Linked DNA regions of Homo sapiens: region 1 is linked to region 2. Evidence: promoter capture Hi-C in human tissues and cell types (Jung and others, 2019). All regions are on one chromosome and are shown on one strand. The core of a region is centred on a gene start or on the middle of the fragment in contact, and the rest is flanking DNA. Distances in the headings are between cores, read along the strand shown. Region 1 overlaps RBFOX2 (RNA binding fox-1 homolog 2). Region 2 holds the start of RASD2 (RASD family member 2).

Region 1 (3,477 bases), core at 114-2,613, 450 kb after region 2:
GTGCAACAGGAAAAAATGGGACAGTCTATGAGGAGCCACCGGAAGATCGGAATGGAAGAGAAAAAGTATAAAGTCAGTTAGGCCTGACAACAGAGGAATATACAGATGGCCACAAGTATTTACATTCTGGATGCTGACCAAGGAGTGCAGAGTTGAAAGAATGGTCTGTTTGGGTATTGCAAGGTTTCTTTAAAAGATAAAAAAAATTAGTCCAAAGAATTCCTTAACAGAAAATTGGAGGGAGGCAGGAGGACTTGGGCCTTTGGACAGGAGTCAGCATCAGCCAGGTTTAAGTGAGCTTTTAGGAGTCACAGTCAGAAGAGCAGAGGAGAACAGGGTAATCCAAATACCATGTCACCTACCAAACATTGAAAACAATGGCAGCTCTGGTCACTGGAGAGAGGAAGAACCCTGAGATTCTGCAAGGAAGAAACCACGGCCTAAAATATCTATTTTGCCAAAGCAAACAAGAAAACTCTCTGAATGAAGTTACTTATGATGTGGACCGACTCAGGCTGACAAGAACGGGCACCAGATTCAGGTTTCTGGCACCTCCGATAATGACTGATGAACTAATAAAAATGAGGCCTCAAGATTCAAGAACTTGGATACCTCTAATCAAAAATAAAAATTAACAAATCAAACAATTACTTTTTTACACACCTAATATATGTAACCACTCCTGTGGCTAAGTGCTTTACTTGCAATATCTCATTAGTTCTCACAACTCTGTGAGGTAGAAACTATTATTAACATTTTACAGATGAAGGAACTGAGCCTCAGAGAAATTGAGAAACTTGCCTAAGGTAATAAATCTATTAAACAGCAAAGTCAATAGGACTCTAAACCCCAAACTCTTAACCACTGAGCTCCACTTGACTCTTACCTTGCCACACCAGCGGATGTTGCCAATATGCTTAAGATATATCCTCTGAAATATACAACTCAAAGTATCATTACTAGCAGAGGGAACGCAAAGAAATAAAAGGCATGGTCCTCAAGAAAATTAACTCTGCTTAGAGAGACAACAGATAACCACACACACACATACACATACACACACACACAAGTAACAATTCGAAACTATGTTTAAGTATTCAACTAATGACAAAGATGACAAGGATACAGAAGATAACAGAATGTAGATTCAAGAGTTCTTTAAGTCTCTGTCCAAGGCAACAAACTAACAATCCATTCATCTAGCCCGGCAGACTTCTCAAACTTAAGAGATAATTTTAAATTCCTTAGGAAATACCTGATTAAAGCTTACTAAAACACCAGAAAAAAAATGAAATCAAATGGTTTTAACTGAATACTTATTCTCTTGATTCTTGAACCCTCTCATAACCCAACCACTTCCCATTATGATACCTAGTTTCCTTATAAAAAAGCTCCATTTTGACCCAAAGCAGATGGAAATTTACCTTTACTGATTATGTCTCCTGGGTCATTTATCCAATACGTCTTGCCTCTTGCTTCAGTATAAACTTCAGAAGTTCGAAGCTAAGCCAAAAACAAAACAGCTACAAGATGAAGGTTAGTAAGGATGAACCCACTCCTGGAAACATCTATGTCTCTGCCTTACAACTCTGAATTCCCTCACATCTTCCACTCAGCCTCGTATGTAAATGAACTCCCCTCCCTTTCCCTACTTGGAGGCAGAAAACAGGATACCTTGCTTTACTTTCAAACTTCTCAGAGGTAGGATGAGATACAGAATGGTTATTAAGTGCTCTGAATCTCAAGCAAAACATAACATACAAAAACATAATACAATACTGGTTTTAACATATTTACCATGTAATGTCCAAACAGCTTTATTCCACTACTAAGAATCAACTAAGGAACACATAAGACAGAAAGGACATAAACAGATGCATATACAAGTGTTAAAAGCCCAAGCAAAGCTAAATTCACCTTTGCGCCTCAAAAGGACCATTTTGATTACAGGTCAGAGTTTGCATCATCAAAATGAATCGAATTGTTCCAAGTAATACTGAAATAGCAGCTGAGGGTAAAATGAACTTTAGCCACTGGACTCTGACCATCATCAGAGGCAGTTATTAAAACACAGGTATGTTAACAGGGGAAAATAGCAGAAAATAAAGGTGGATGTAATGGTTTTAAAATATGCTCACAAAGTATTTGATACTACTCCATTCAAAAGGTAGGTCCTGCTTTTCCTCCCCTTAAGAGGAGCTAGACTTGCTTCTAACAGCATAAAGCAAAAATTTAAGTAGATCCTCCTGCCTCAGTCAAGCCTTCAGATAAATGCAGCCCAGTCAAAAGCTTGACTGAAACCTCATGAGAGATCCTGGGACAGAACTACACAGCTAAGTTGTCTCAAATTTCTGACCTACAGAAACTATGAGATAATAAGTGTTTGTTGTTTGAAGCCAGTAAGTGTAGGGCTAATTTGTTACACAGCGAGAAATAACTAATAGGGAGGGTATGTTGTAGTGCACTGTGTTATGAATCCCAAACTGCCATTATGGGAGGTCGAGGCAGATAGATCACTTAAGGTCAGGAGTTTAAGACCAGCCTGGCCAACATGGTAAAACCCCTTCTCTACTAAAAATACAAAATTTAGCCAGGTGCTGTGGCAGGCACCCGTAATCCCAGTTACTCAGGAGGCTGAGGCAGGAGAATCACCTGAACCCAGGAGGCAAAGGTTGCAGGGAGCCAAGATTGCGCCACTGCACTCCAGCCTGGGAGACAGAACGAGACTGTCTCGAAAAACAAAAAAACAAACAAAAAAATCATTAAAGGTCCCTCCAAAGTTCTGAAAACAAGGACTACCAGAAAGAAGCACACCAGTATTGTAGTAACTTCCCCTTCTAGTTTGAGCAAGCTAATAGGAATATAATGAGAGCCAGAAATATATGCCATTATGTAATTTAAAATTTTGTAGTAGCCATATTAAAAATGGTAAAAAAAAAAAGGTGAAACTAATTTTAAGAATATATTTTATTGAATCCAACACAGTTAAAATATTAGCATTTCAACATGTTGATTTTAAAACATACTCAATATTTTAAAAATCTCAACATAGTATCTTACATTCTTTTTTGTACTAATTCTTCTAAATCTAGTGTATAGTATTTTACATTGAGTGCATCCTTTTATTTATTCATTTTATTTATTTATTTATTTATTTATTTATTTATTTTTTGAGATAGGGTCTCACTGTGTCACTCAGGCCAGAGTACAGCAGCACGATCATCGCTCACTGTAGCCTTGACTTTCCAGGCTCAAATGATCCTCCCACCTCAGCTTCCCAAGTAGCTGGGACCACAAGCCTGTGTCACCATACCCAGTTAATTTTTTAATTTTTTGTAGAAATGGGGTCTCTCTATGTTGCCCAAGCTGGTCTCAAACTCTTGGGTTCAAGTGATCCTCCCACTTCGGCCTCCCAAAGTGCTGGAATTACAAGCGTGAGGTACCATGCCTAGCTTTTTTATTTTTTATTATAATTTC
Region 2 (3,561 bases), core at 177-2,676:
CTGGCAGACATCCCTGAGGTCCAGGGATCTGGAACTGAGGGACACAGACACAGCATCCCATCCCTTTGCTGTATCACACAACGAGAACATTCTCTTTTAAGCCTCCTGATATGTGAAGGAGAAAGTCTCTGTTAGGTGCTAATGGGTATTTAACACCTCTCCAAACCTTGCCAATCTCCCTTTTTCACTGAGGGCACACATCTCAAGCCTTGGCAGGCCACGGTTTCCAGCTGGAATTTAATAACCTTGCTTTGTTTTCACTGTGCTTATTTTAACTCTTACTTTCTATTTATGGCAAGTGATACTGATTTCCCATTTAAGGCAGTGATATAATGATTCTCTAAAAAAACGTGTTTAAGGGGTGGGGAAAGTGGATCTGATATTTTAAAAAATATATTAAGTAATAAGTGGTGTGGAGATATGGCCCAGTGAGAAGGCCCGATGTCTGGCCTAGGTCAAGCCCCTCATTTAAAGGTGGGGAGGGAGAATGCAGGCAGGAGACGCAATGCTCAAGGCACCTGGTGTGTCCCCGTCGGCCGTGGTCTCTGAGACTCGCATGCCTCGAAGACCTCTGGCTACTAAGCCTAGGTGACTCCCCGCCCCTCTGGGCGACACGTGCATGGCCCATGTGCCAGTCCGCAGGGTCCCGTGGGCACCGTGAGCTCGGGAGGGAGGCGGCGGCTGGGACAGGCAGGTTGGACACCTGGGAGGGCACCCGGGGACTTCCGCGAAGGAGGAGGGCGCTGGAACCGTGGCGCGCTCGACCTGGCCGGGCGCAAGCCGCTGGAGACCCCGGCCGAGTGGGCAGGCGGCCGGACCCCATGCGGGTCACCTGCGGCCAGGCCGGGCGTGCGTGTGAGCGCGTGCGCAGACGTCAGCCTCCGAGGCCCGGGCCGCCTTCTGGGCAAGGTGCGCGCGCCCAGCGGCCCCGGCCCCACGCGCCCGGACACGCGGAACCGCAGACCGCGGCGCCCCGGAGGCCGCGAAAGGGATGGGCGGGGCCGGGCCGCGGGACCCGCCTCCCATTGGCCGGGCGCCGGGGCGAGGCGGGGCGCCGGGGTGGGGCGGGGCGAGCGGGCTCTGGGGGGCAGACGCTGGCGCTGGGCGGCGGGAGGCGCGGCTCGCGGGGGGCCGAAGGAGCAGGTGGGCGACGCTCGCAGGGGCGCGGGAGGGTGCCGCTGGGACCGTCATCAGGAGCCTGGGGTTCTGCCACCTTTCGGAGGGATCAGCGACCTCTTCGCCCTGCGGGTGACAGTGGGGCATCTGCCTGCGAGAGGGGGAAGGAGGGAGAACCCAGGGCCACACACAAAGTTCTCCTCATCTGGGGACAGGAGGAGGTGAAGGAGGAGGAGCCGGGTTGATGCTAACTTGGAGCTGCGAAACCTTGGGGCGGCGTTCAAGGCCCCCTCCCACACGCGCGCAGAGCAGAGCGCCCTGCTCCTCCTTCAGCTGCTGGCGTCGCCGCGCGGGGAGAAAGAAGCCGTCCCTCCGGCGCTGGGAGAGCTGCAGAGCCGCGGGCAGAGAAGGAGGCCGCGGCCGAGCCCGGCAGCCCGATACCCCCCATCCGAGCGACCCCCTTTGGGGCAGGCGGAGAAGGTGGCATAGGCGACCAGGAGGGTTCGCCCACCTGGGACACGCACCCACAGTCACCTCCAAAGGACCCCCCCTCCCCAAGTCTCTAGGAGCTGCTCCTTCATCACTGGAGTCGCCCCTACCTCTCTGCCCCCAGCCCGAGAGCCCCAGGCGGGGACCCCCGGATCGGACGTCCCCAAGCCTCCGGGCACCTGGCTCAGCAGGAGGCCCCCGGCTCGGGGCAGGGCAGGGCCGGCGGCGGCGAGCCGGAGCCCGCCCCCTGCCCGGGCCCCGCCGAGCCCTCGGAGCCCACCCATGGGGCACCTGCCCCTTGCGCCTCCTTGCCCGGCCGCGCCCAGCCCGGCGTCCCGAGCAGCGCAGGGGAGGATCCCCGCGCAGTGACCCGGGAGCCACCACAGACTCTGGGAGGCTCGGCGGCTGGAGCAGCAGGCAGCTCCCCGCAGCTCCCGGCGCTTCCAGGCAGCTCTCTGAGCCGTGCCAGAGGCCCGGCCCGCCATTCCCAGGTAGGAGACGCCCCAACAGAGCTGGGCATCTGGGGGAAGTGGAGCAGCCGGGAAGAAAGGGTAGAGGCTTGGAGGAGGAAAGCTCAGTGATTCCTTAGATGACCAGAGAAAGTGAAATTGATTGAGCACCTACTATGTGCCGGGATCGTCTGGCAACTTTGCATACCTAGAGAGAATTAAATTCGTTGAGCACCTACTGTATGTGTCAAACTGAGTGCTATACCCTTGACTTAATCCCAGGAAAGAAAGATTTATTGAGCTTCTACTATGTGCTAGTTTTGGTGCCACAGGCTTTGCATTTAAAGAGCTAGAGTAATAGCCCATTTAAATAGGAGGAAACGGGGGCTCAGGGAAGACGAGTCAACTACCACAAACACTCCTGTCCCTCTTCTGGAGCTGGCTGCAGCCTGCATTACCTGGAGGTGGGGAAGGAAGATTAAGAAGCTCCTTCGTTATCCAGAGTTCTTGAGCTTTTTCTGGGTTGGTGCAGAGTGAGTTTCCTGGATGATTCCCTTCCCAGGAGGGGTTTCCTGTAACTTAGCTGTCTTGGAGGGCCCGGAAGGCAGCTCTGGAGGCCTCTCTGTGCCCTCCCCTCCCCTTGTCCCCAGCACCAGGAGGATGACAGGGGATGTTGTCCAAGACCTCATGGAAGGTGGGAAGCCAGGCTGGGAGGGAGCAGCCAGGTCAGGAGCCAGTGAATCAAGCCTCCTGTGGTGTCAGAGACAAGATGGGGTCCCTGCAAGACCTGCGCCTGCATTCCAGTCCAGCCTCACCAGGCTGCTCTAGGCAGCCCCACGACTGCCAAGATAAAGTGCCACGAAGAAAAGAACCCAGCATGTGTTCAGGTTTGCTGCGGGTCAAGAGCTGGGTCAGCCTCCAGACTTATTGGAAACCCAGGGCCACACAGGGGGTTTATGTCTTACCATTAACAGAGGAATAACCTGAGCCCCAGGAAGCCAAGTCATTTGCCCAGGGCTGCCGGGCTGGTGAGAGGCAGAGTTGGCCTGCCAGAAGTGGATGCCTGCCTACCTTCTACCACCTGAGCTGCCAAGGGTGGTGGGGTTGGCTTTGCCAAGCTCCCGGACTCTCAGAGTGGCAGCTGGAAGCCAGTGATGGCAATGTGCGTGTCCAAAGAGGCTGAGTGTGCACTGATGGAGGAGGCATGGGGGTGTGGAGGAGGGGCAGTGCAGTGAAACAGGCTCTGGGGCATACACCGGGAGGACACGTCCAGACTCTTGTCCTGCTGCCTGTGCCCGTGTGACCCCTTCATCTTTCAGGCAGGCCCTGGGAGAGAGGCTCAAGGGAGAAGTGGTGAATCCACAGGTGCACTTGCTCAGAGGTGGCTGGCAGGGTTAGGGGAGAATCCTGGGAGGTGCCTGCCCCCTTTCCGCTCCGCTGCCTGCAGGGAGAGAGGGAGTGAGAATATAGTATGTCTCGGCGTCATCCCCCCGCCTGATGCCAGCTG

Evidence for each region. Contacts are between HindIII fragments. The study calls those that stand out against the background at their distance.
Region 1: a contact is called between a fragment that was not itself captured here and the fragment with the promoter of RASD2 in region 2, in 1 of the 25 tissues and cell types used here (bladder).

Annotation. Positions count from the first base shown.
Region 1 is chr22:35,991,252-35,994,728 of GRCh38, forward strand. All of the region lies in intron 1 of RBFOX2 (RNA binding fox-1 homolog 2), which reads right to left. Among named protein-coding and RNA genes, the nearest start is that of RBFOX2, 36 kb to the right of the region's middle. The HindIII fragment of the contact is 4,413 bases long and covers 1-3,477 here.
Region 2 is chr22:35,539,405-35,542,965 of GRCh38, forward strand. RASD2 (RASD family member 2) reads left to right here and starts at 1,427. Exons shown (of 3, transcript NM_014310.4): 1 at 1,427-2,096. RefSeq lists enhancers at 89-651, 652-1,214, 1,215-1,777 and a silencer at 899-1,118. The HindIII fragment of the contact is 17,894 bases long and covers 1-3,561 here.